2 separate regions of the Homo sapiens genome follow, and region 1 is linked to region 2. The links are contacts of gene promoters, found by promoter capture Hi-C in human tissues and cell types (Jung and others, 2019). All regions are on one chromosome and are shown on one strand. Each heading gives the region's core, a stretch centred on a gene start or on the middle of the fragment in contact. The rest is flanking DNA. Distances are from core to core; before and after follow the strand shown. Region 1 holds the start of MAP2K2 (mitogen-activated protein kinase kinase 2). Region 2 overlaps APBA3 (amyloid beta precursor protein binding family A member 3).

Region 1 (5,292 bases), core at 409-2,908, 370 kb after region 2:
TCACCCCATCTCTCCCCCAAGGGACTCGCTTCACTATCATTTCAATATGCAGAACACCCCTTGCCTATCCTTCCCCCACAGGCCCCCACCGACACATCCTCTCCTCCCAGGGACCCCCTCAACCCCATCTCACAATTCAGGGGCCCTGCACCCCATCTTCTCTCTGCAAGGACATCTCCTTGGCCTGATCTCACGACTTAGGGATTCCAAACCCCATCTTTTCCCCAAAGGGATCTCCCCTCACTCCAATCTCATTACTCAGGGACCCCACCATCTCCCCGATTTCACTATTCAGGGACCGTTCACCCCATTTCACTACTCAGAGACCTACCACCATTCTGCTACTCAGTGACTCCATGCCCTGTCTTTTCCCACAGGGACCTCCCTTGGCCCTATCTCATTATTGAGGGACCCTTACCCCGTCTTTTCCTACCAGGGACCCTACCCCATCTCAGTCTCATTACTCAGGGACCCCTCACCCCATCCTCTCCCCTCTGGAGCCCCCTTGCCCAGATTTCCTCCTCAGGGGCTGCCTGACCTCCCCACACCCCATCCTCTCCTCTCAGGAATGCCCTGCACCCCGATTTCCCTACTCAGGGTCTCCCCTCACCCTCATCTCATGACTACGGCAACCTTTACTCCGTCCTTTCCTCTTAGGAACTCTTCACCCTCATTTCACTACTCAAGGACCCCACACTGTGTTCTCTCCTCTTAGAGATACCCCTCACCCCGATCTCACTGCTTGGGGAGCCTCATCCTGTTCTCTCCTTGGGGACACCCCTCATTCCGATTTTCCTACTGAGGGACTCCCCTCACCCCAGCTTCACTTTTCAGAAGCCCCACACCCCATCTTCTGCACTGCAGGGACCTCCCCTCACTCAACCTCGCTGCTCAGGGACCCCTGTCCCCATCCTCTCCTCTTAGAGACATCCTTCACCCCAACTTCACTACTCAGAGACTCCCGTTATCCCAATTCCACTCTTCAGGAACCCCACACCCCATCTTTTCCACCACAAGGACCTCCCCTCGCCCAATCTCACTGCTCAAAGACCCCCCTGCCCCGTGCACCCTTCGCCCCGTCCTCCGAGGGCCCCCTGCCCCGTCCTCCCCCGAGGGCCCCCTGCCCCGTCCTCCCCCGAGGGTCCCCTGCCCTGTCCTCCCCTCGAGAACCCCCTGCCCCGTGCACCACTCACCCCGTCCTCCCCCGTGACCCCCCTGCCTCGTGCACTCCTCGCGAACCCCCGTCCCCTCGCCCCGTCCTTCCCCGAGGGCTCCCTGCCCCGTGCACCCCAAGCCTCCGGCTGACCCCTGCCCACTCACTCGGAGGCGCCCTCGCTGGTAGGGGATGGGCCCTCGGCGATGGTAGGGTTGATGGTGAGCGCCGGCAGCACCGGCTTCCTCCGGGCCAGCATCGGGGCTCCGCGGGCCGGCGGCGGCGGCGCCTCTAGCCGGGGCCCATAGGGGGCGGGCCGGGAGCGGTCGGCGCCTACGCGAGCCCGGGGCTGCGGCCGCGGCCCAGGCCGGCGTCGGGGCGGCCGAGGGCGGGCGGCGCTGCGGGCCTGGGCCGAGGGTAGCCGAGGGGCGCTGGGGCTGAGGCGAGCGAGCCGCTACCGCTGCCGAGGCCCGAAGAAGGCTGACGCCGCAGCCCGAGTCCGAGAGGCAGGGGGAGGGGAGGGGCGGCCACAAGATCGCGGACCGGCTTCTCGCGATAACGGGATCGGGAGCCGCGATGGACCCCACCCCCAGCCGCCGCGCCTGCGCAGCAGCACAAGGCCGCCTTTCGGAGGGGAAAGGGGCGGAGACCGACGCGAGGCGGTGCCGGGACCGGGCGCCCTCGCTTGCCTTACCACGGCGCGTGTGCCCAAGCGCTTGGGGCATGAGGCGCGGGAGCAGGGGAGGAGACGGAGGGATGAAGGCTGGGGTGATGGTCGTGCACAGGTGGGCAGGGTAGCCAGACTCCTGAGAGCCTGTGGTGCCCCAGGCTGGGGCTGAGAGAACCCGTAAGACCCCAGAACAGTGGACGAGACCCACCCAGAGTCCATTTAATCTTTTTGGCAAGCGTGGACACACGCCCCTAGCCCCCACCGCCTTAGAGTGTCAGTTACTCCCCCTCCTTCATCAGAACAAGGCCACTCTAAAACATTTTTAAAATTTATTTTAATTGACAAATAAAATTGCATATATTACTATGCGCATGTTGAAACATTTTTATTATAAAATACACATAACATAAAACTTGTCATTTTAACCATTTCTAAATGCACAGCTCAGCGGCATTAAGCAACCACCACCACCACCATCTCCAGAATTTTCTCATCTTCCGAAACTGAAACACTGTCCCCTATGAAACCTCACTCCCTATCCCCCTCCCCAGCCCCTGGAACCCAACGTCGTACTTCCTGTGAATCTGATGATTCTAGGGACTTCATATGAGTAGGATCACACAGGTTTTGTCCCTTTGTGGCTGGCATATTTCACTGAGGGCCACGTCCTCAAGGTGCCTGTTGTAGCTGTGTTAGATCCACGTTGTAACCTGTGTTAGAATTTACCCACTTGACTACTCCGGGCATACTTCCAATCGGGTAGCCCTGCTCCAAAAAAGAGCAGAAAAAAAAAAAAAAAGAAAAATTTCCCTTTTTTTTTTTTTGAGACGGAGTCTCGCTCTGTCACCCAGGCTGGAGTGCAGTGGTGCGATCTCGGCCCACTGCAAACTCTGCCTCCCGGGTTCACGCCATTCTCCTGCCTCAGCCTCCCGAGTAGCTGGGACTACAGGTGCCCACCACCATGCCCGGCTAATTTTTTTGTATTTTTAGTAGAGACGGGGTTTCACCGTGTTAGCCAGGATGGTCTCCATCTCCTGACCTCGTGATCCACCCGCCTCGATCTCCCAAAGTGCTGGGATTACAGGCGTGAGCCACCGCACCCAGTCAGGATTTTCCTCCTTTTTAAGGCTGAATAATATTCTATTGTGTGCATGGACTATATTTTGCTTATCCATTTATCTGCCACTAGACACTTCGGTGAATCGTGCCGCTATGAACACAGATGTACAAATATCTGTTTGAGTCCTTGCCTTGAGTTCTTTTGGGTATATGTTCTGAAGAGGAATTACTGGATTATATGGTAATTCTATGTTGAACTTTTTGAAGCACCACCTTACTATTTAATACAATAGCCGTACCACTTTATAAGAAAGGTCATAGGCTGGGCGCGGTGGCTCACGCCTGTAATCCCAGCACTTTGGGAGGTCGAGGCGGGTGGATCACCTGAGGTCAGGAGTTGAAGACGAGTCTGGCCAACATGGTGAAACCCCGTCTCTACTAAAACAAAAAAATACAAAAATTAGCCGGGCATGGTGGCGCGTGCCTGTAATCCCAGCTACTCGCGAGGTTGAGGCAGAAGAATTGCTTGAACCCGGGAGGCAGAGGTTGCAGTGAGCCAAGATCACGCCATTGCACTCCAGCTTGGGAGACAAGAGCGAGACTTCGTCTCAAAAAAATCAAACAAACAAACAAACAAACAAATAAATAAATAAAATACAAAAATTAGCCAGGCCTGGCGGTGTGTGCCTATAGTCTCAGCTACTCAGGCGGCTGAGGCAGGAGAATCGCTTGAACCCGGGGGGCAGACGTTGCAGTGAGCCAAGATTGCACCACTGCCCTCCAGCCTGGGCGACAAAGTAAGACTCCGTCTCCAATAAAACAGAACAAAAAAAAATTTAATTTTTTGCCAGGTGCCGTGGCTCACACCTGTAATCCCAGGACCCTGGGAAGCTGAGGTGGGCTGATCACTTGAGGTCAGGAGTTCGAGACCAACCTGGCCAACATGGTGAAACCTCGTCTCTACTAAAAATACAAAAATTACACAGGTGTGGTGGCGGGTGGCTGTAATTCCAGCTACTAGGGAGGCTGAGGTGGGATAACTGAACCCCGGAGGCGGAGGTTGCAGTGAGCCGAGATTGTGCCATCGCATTCCAGCCTGGGCGACAGAGCCAGACTCACGCTCAAAAAACAAAACCAACCAACTGGCCGGGCGCGGTGGCTCACGCCTGTAATCCCAGCACTTTGGGAAGCCAAGGCAGGTGGATCATGAGGTCAAGAGATTGAGACTATCCTGGCCAACATGGTGAAACCCCGTCTCTACTAAAAATACAAAAATTAACTGGGTGTGGTGATGCGTGCCTGTAGTCCCAGCTACTCGGGAGGCTGAGGCAGGAGAATCGCTTAAACCCGGGAGGTGGAGGTTGCAGTGAGCCGAGATCACGCCATTGCACTCCAGCCTGGGCGACCGACCGAGACTCCATCTCGAAAAAAACAAAACAAAACAAAACAACAAACAAAACACTGCTCCTGGGGAAGCCTGCTCCTGGGTTTTTACAATCTGGGCCTTTCAGTTTTACTTCTCATCGCTCCCACCCGCTTGTCCAAAATTCAGATGGATGCATATGTGGCCTCAAATAAGGACAGGCCCTTTCAGAGACAGGGCTATTTCCATGTTCCTTCTGTTTTGCCTAGCAATCTTTCTCCCATTTTATCCTATTTTAGGCTTTTTTTTTCTTTTTAAGACAAGTTCTGACTCTGTCACCCAGGCCTCAGGCTGGAGTGCAGTGGCACGATCATAACTCTCTGCAGCCTCCACCTCCCTGGCTCAAGCGATTCTCCCACCTCAGCCTCCCTAGTAGCCCTGGCTACAAACATACGCCACCACACTCGGCTAATTTTTGTATTTTTTGTCCAGACAGGGTTTCTCCATGTCACTCAGGCTGGTCTCACACTCCTAGGCTCAAGCGATCCTCCTGCCTCGTCCTCAGCAGTGCTGGGACTAGAGCCGTGAGCCACTGCACTCACCTATTAATGCACAAGTTTCTGAAGTTCAATTTCTTGGATTATTACAACTCTATACATCCATGTAACACTTCCCCTTACTCCAGAAAGTCTGTTCACTGCCTTTTTAGTTCATTCTCTTCCTCTGCACCCAGCAGTAGTGAGCTGGTAAATGTTTAACAATGAGCCATTAAAATAAGGAGAGGCCGGGTGTGGTGGCTCACACCTGCAATCCCAGCACTTTGGGAGGCCAAAGCAGGTGATCACTTGAGGTCAGGAGTTCGAGTCCAGCCTGGCCAACATGGTGAAACCCCATCTCTACTAAATATACAAAAATTAGGCTGGTCACGGGTGTAATCACAGCACTTTGGCAAGCCGAGGTGGGCAGATCACCTGAGGTCAAGAGTTCAAGACCAGCCTGACCAACATGGTGAAACCCCGTCTCTACTAAAAACACACAAAAATTAGC
Region 2 (5,123 bases), core at 8-2,507:
GTGCACCTGGGACACACAGGGGGCGCGGAGGCTGCTCAGCAGGGCCCGGTGCAGGTGCACGGGTGTGGGGGGCACCAGGTGGGGGCTGCCCAGCACCTCACTCACCTCCCGGCAGTTGTCACTGTTGGAGAAGTGGTCCAGGTCCCCATTATGGAGGTGGCAGGCGCCTGGGCTCGGGTGCACGCCCACCTGGCTGGGGTCAATACCGCTTTCCCGTAGGAACTGGCTGTAGGCGGCGGCGAAGGCCTGGCCAATGGCCTGGGCGATGAGCTGGGCCTGCGGGGAGGAGTGGCGCGTCCCTGGGGTGTCCCACCCACCTCCTCCAGGTCCCCAAAGTCCCCAGGGTCCTCAGAGCTGAGCCCTCCTGTCCCCACCTGGGGTGAGAGTCCCAGGACACAGCCTTCTGCCCTGGGGCTTTGGGGGAGGTGGAGAGACAGCCGCATCTTGGGGAATCTACGGGGAGAAGGAAGGGGAGGGGCAGCCCTGGGCTGGGGGGACGATGAGGGAGGCAGCTCCCTGCGCATGGGCTGTGGGAAAAGCTATCAAAGACCCAGCCAGGGGGCCTGGGGCCTCATGGGTGGCAGGGACAGCCCAGGAGCGGGCAAGGTTTCGGGGAGTCGGCCGAGAGTCTTGGAGTCTTATAGGAGGCTGGACGCGGTGGCTCACGCCTGTAATTGCAGCACTTTGGGAGGCTGAGGTGGGTGGATCGCTTGAGCCCAGGAGTTTGAGACCGTGTTCACCTGGGCAACAGAGCGAGACCGTGTCTCTATAAAAAATACAAAAATTAGCCAGGCATGGTGATACCCCGGTGGTCCCAGCTACTAGAGAGGCTGAAGTGGGAGGATCGCTTGAGCCTGGAAGGTTGAGGCTGCAGTGAACTATGATTGCGCCACTGCACTCCAGCCTGGGTGACAGAAGGAGACCTTGTCCCAAAAAAAGAATTTAAAAATAAGCTTATGGGAGGGAGGTTAAATGCACGGCCCACTGAGGGAGGCGACAGTTGCAGTGAGGAGGGCCTCAGGAGGGTGGCCCCGCGCCCTGGCTGCTCACGTCCTCCGCGTAGAATACGTGGCAGAGCATCTTGTAGAGGCGGCGGCCGTGGTCCTGGGGTGCCGGCCTCCGTGCCAGCCGCCGCCGCGCCATCAGCACCAGCACGCAGCCGATGTCGGCTGTGTAGGAGATGGTATGCAGGGCGTGGTCCATCATGGCCTCCTGGGGCGGGAGAGGCAGCCTGGGTGGGTTGGGGGGCCGTGCCAGGCTCGATCACCCCACCCGCATCCCTGGGGCGGGTCCCTGCCCCGTACCTGGGAGTCCGCTGTCAAGACCTTGATCCTCTTGGTGGAGACGAACAGGTCCACCTCCGTCATGGGCTGGGTCTCCCCATCGGGGGCCTGTGGGTGGCGGCGTGGGAGGTGGAGGCCCCCACAGACCCAGCCTGCAGCCCACCCGCCTGCCCGCCCGGCCCCGGCCGCCCCCTCACCTTGACGCGGTCCATGGCCTCCCGGGCCTGGGCCATGCGCGTGCTGGTGGGCGGGTTCCGTTCCGACACCAGCTGGGTGGACCCCAGGTACCTGGCCCCAAATATGACACCGTCCAGGAGGTCTTCATGGTCACAGGGACCAGGCACTGAGGGCGACAGCGAAGAGGGTCGGCCCCCAGGGGCCCACTCCCACAGGCTCTGCCCCAGGGCTACGCTCTCCGAGATGGCCGGGAGACACAGTGTTCTAGCTGGTGGCTTAGCACTCTCCAGCCAGGAAGCACAGCCCACTGTTCTAGAACCATCCAAGCAGCCTGGCCCTCACAGGTCTAGAACCTTCTGTCCATCCCTCAAGGACTCGCAGGTGGGAAACCAGTGAGTCCAGGCCATGGCTGGATTCAAAGCCAGATCTAGCACCCACAGATACCTTCACCCCGTGTCCCCAGAATTCCATGATCAGGCCGGAACCAGACAGTCCCACTCCTGCTTTTTTGAGACACGGTCTCGCTCTGTCGCCCAGGCTGGAGCTCGGTGGTGTGATCTCAGCTCACTGCAACCTCCGCTTCCTGGGTTCAAACGATTCTCCTGCCTCAGTCTCATGAGTAGCTGGGATTACAGGCGCCCACCACCACGCCTGGCTAGTTTTTGTATTTTTAGTAGAGACGGGGTTTCGCCACGTTGGCCAGGCTGGTCTCAAACTCCCGACCTCAAGTGATCCACCCGCCTTGGCCTCCTAAAGTACTGGGATGACAGGCGTGAGCCACGACGCTCCACCCCCCACTCCAATTTCGAAACCTCCACAACATTCTAGAACCACAGTGGACCCCTGCTTCTTGGTTCTGGAATTCCCTCCATCAATCTAGAACTGGCCAGCTCTGCCCACTGTTCTAGAACCGTCTGCAGTCAGCCCAGGATAGCAGGCAGCTCTGTTCCCGGGTTGTAGAACCACTCAGAACAGAGACAGACCCTGCTGCCTGTCTAAAATTCCCATACTCTCCAGAACCCCAGCTGGTTCTGACCCTTGATTCCAGAACTCTCTGACAGGTCTCATAGCAATTCTGTCAGGAGTTTTAGAATCTTATTATCACTCTAGAATCAGACTTCTCTGCTCCGTGATTCCAGAACATCTTAATCACAATCGCGTCAGGCAGCTCTTCCTGTGGTTCTAGAATCTCCTTCAGTAGTTCACACCTTTGGCTACACCAGGGATTCTAAGAATTACCTGACCAGTCAAGGAACAAACAATTCTGTTCCAGGAGAATTCTAGACAGTTCCAGAATACTCCCAACCCAGCCCAGAACTACATAAAGCTTTACTCCTGGCTGGGTGCGGTGGCTCACGTCTGTAACCCCAGCACTTTAGGAGGCCGGGGGGGGGGGGTGGATCACCTGAGGTCAGGAGTTCGAGACCTGCCTGGCCAACATGGCGAAACCCCGTCTCTACTAAAAATACAAAATTAGCTGGGCGTGGTGGCGCGTGCCTATAATCCCAGCTACTTGAAAGCTGAGGCGGGAGAATCACTTGAACCCAGGAGGTGGAGGTTGCAGTGAGCCGAGAGAGATCGCACCACTGCACACCAGCCTGGGTGACAGAGCAAGATTCCATCTCCAAAAACAAAAAGGAAAAAAAAAAAAAAGCTTTACTCTCATGGTTCTAGAATTCCCTGAGCTACCCAGAGCCAGACAGCTCTGCCAGTGGCCCTAGAACATTCTAACCAGTAACTACGGCTCTTTGGTTTAGAACCACGGGTGTAGGGCCCCGTTCTGGACACCACTAAGTGAAATTCACCCTACACCACAGTCGGTTCTGCCCACTATCCTTCAGGATCTAAGCATTCTGGAACAAGAGCTCCACTCTGGGGTTCTAGAGAGATACGTCATTCACTGTGGTAGCCACCAGGCACATGTATCTATCACAGACTTGAAATGTGGCTCGACTGAATAGAGATGTAAATAGAAAATACACACTAGATATTGAAGATTTGGTATGAAAAAAAGTAATTTAAGGTCAGGCATGGTGGTTCACGCCTGTAATCCCAGCACTTTGGGAGGCAGAGGCGGGCGGATCACCTGAGGTCAGGAGTTTGAGACCAGCCTGGCCAACATGGTGAAACCCCGTCTCTACTAAAAATACCAAAATTAGCTGGGCATGGTGGCAGGCGCCTGTAATCCCAGCTACTCGGGAGGCTAAGGAAGGAGAATCACTTGAACCCAGGAGGCAGAGGTTGCAGTGAGCCAAGATTGCGCCATTGCACTCCAGCCTGGGCAACAAGGTGAGACTGTGTCTCAAAAAAATAAAAAAGTAAATTAAAAATATTGATTGTATGTTGAAATAATATTTTAAATATGTTAGCTTAATTAAAATGTTATTAAAGTTAATTTCTTAGCCAGGTATGGTGGCGTATGCCTATAGTTCCAGTTACTCAGGAGGCTGAGGCGAGAGAATCGCTTGAAGCTGGGAGGCGGAGGTTGCGGTGAGCTGAGATCGTGCCACTGCACTGCAGCCTGGGCGACAGAGCGAGACTCCGTCTCAGTTTAAAAAAAAAAAAAGTTATTTCACCTGTTTTTAATTTTTTAACGTGGATAACTACAAAATTTTAAATCACATATGGCTCACGTTGTATTTCTATTGTAGTTCCATCTAGAACTTTCTGATTACACTATAATTGGACAGCTCTGCCCAGGGTTATAGAACACTAGATAACTATTCCCTCCATGGTTCTAGAATTCTCCAGTCTGAGTAGAACCAGATGCCTCTGTTCACCAATTCTGAGCATTCTCATCAGCCCAGATTCCTTTACCCTAGAAACAGACAAAATGCCAAGCCCTGGAACTCCCTAGGTGTCACAGCTCTGCTCGATTCTAGAACCTTCTTAGAGCTATAGGTTCAAACCAGTTTTTCTCTCTGCAACCACAGAACTGTTTTTTTTTTTCTTTTTTTTGAGACATGGTCTCACTGTCACCCAGGCTGGAGTGCAGTGGCACAATCTTAGCTCACTGCAGCCTCAAGTGATCCTCCCACCTCAGCCTCCCAAGTAGCTGGGATTATAGACCCATGCCACGTGCCTGGCTAATTTTGGGGGGGGATTTTATTTTTGTGGAGACAGGGTTTTGCTGTGTGGCCCAGGCTGGTCTCGAACTCCTGGGCTCAAGCGATCCTCCCACATCAGCCTTTCAAAGTGTTGGGATTACAGATGTGAGCCACCCTTCCCGGCCAGAACTTACTATCTGACCTATATCCTTAGCGAAGTGTAGAACAGAGGCTGGCCGCGGTGGCTCACACCTGTAATCCCAGCATTTTGGGAGGCCGAGGCGGGTGGATCACAAGGTCAGGAGTTTGAGACCAGCCTGACCAAGACGGTGAAACGCCGTCTCTACTAAAAATATAAAAATTAGCTGGGCACGGTGGCGGACGCTTGTAATCTCAGCTACTCAGGAGGCTGAAGCAGGAGAATCACTTGAATCCGGGCGGCAGAGGTTGAAGTGAGCTGAGATTGCACCACTGAAAAAAAAAGTCTAGAACATTCCAGAGGGCCAGAAATTGTTCTTCCCATGCTTTTAGGGCAGGGCTTGGCAAACATTTTCTGTAAAGGGCCAAAGAGTAAATATTTTCAGCCTTGTAGGTCACAAGGTATCTGCTGCAGCTA

Evidence for each region. The method cuts DNA at HindIII sites, captures the fragments that hold promoters and counts their contacts. A contact is called where the count stands out against the background at its distance.
Region 1: the fragment with the promoter of MAP2K2 here is called in contact with a fragment that was not itself captured in region 2 in 2 of the 25 tissues and cell types used here (dorsolateral prefrontal cortex and spleen).

Annotation. Positions count from the first base shown.
Region 1 is chr19:4,122,464-4,127,755 of GRCh38, forward strand. It overlaps MAP2K2 (mitogen-activated protein kinase kinase 2), which reads right to left and starts at 1,659. Exons shown (of 11, transcript NM_030662.4): 1 at 1,321-1,659. The coding sequence starts at 1,412. RefSeq lists silencers at 1,252-1,501, 1,692-1,811. The HindIII fragment of the contact is 9,633 bases long and covers 1-4,278 here.
Region 2 is chr19:3,752,715-3,757,837 of GRCh38, forward strand. APBA3 (amyloid beta precursor protein binding family A member 3) reads right to left here. Exons shown (of 11, transcript NM_004886.4): 4 at 1,481-1,626; 5 at 1,305-1,391; 6 at 1,051-1,212; 7 at 106-276; 8 at 1-6. Among named protein-coding and RNA genes, the nearest start is that of APBA3, 6.4 kb to the right of the region's middle. The HindIII fragment of the contact is 3,385 bases long and covers 1-2,950 here.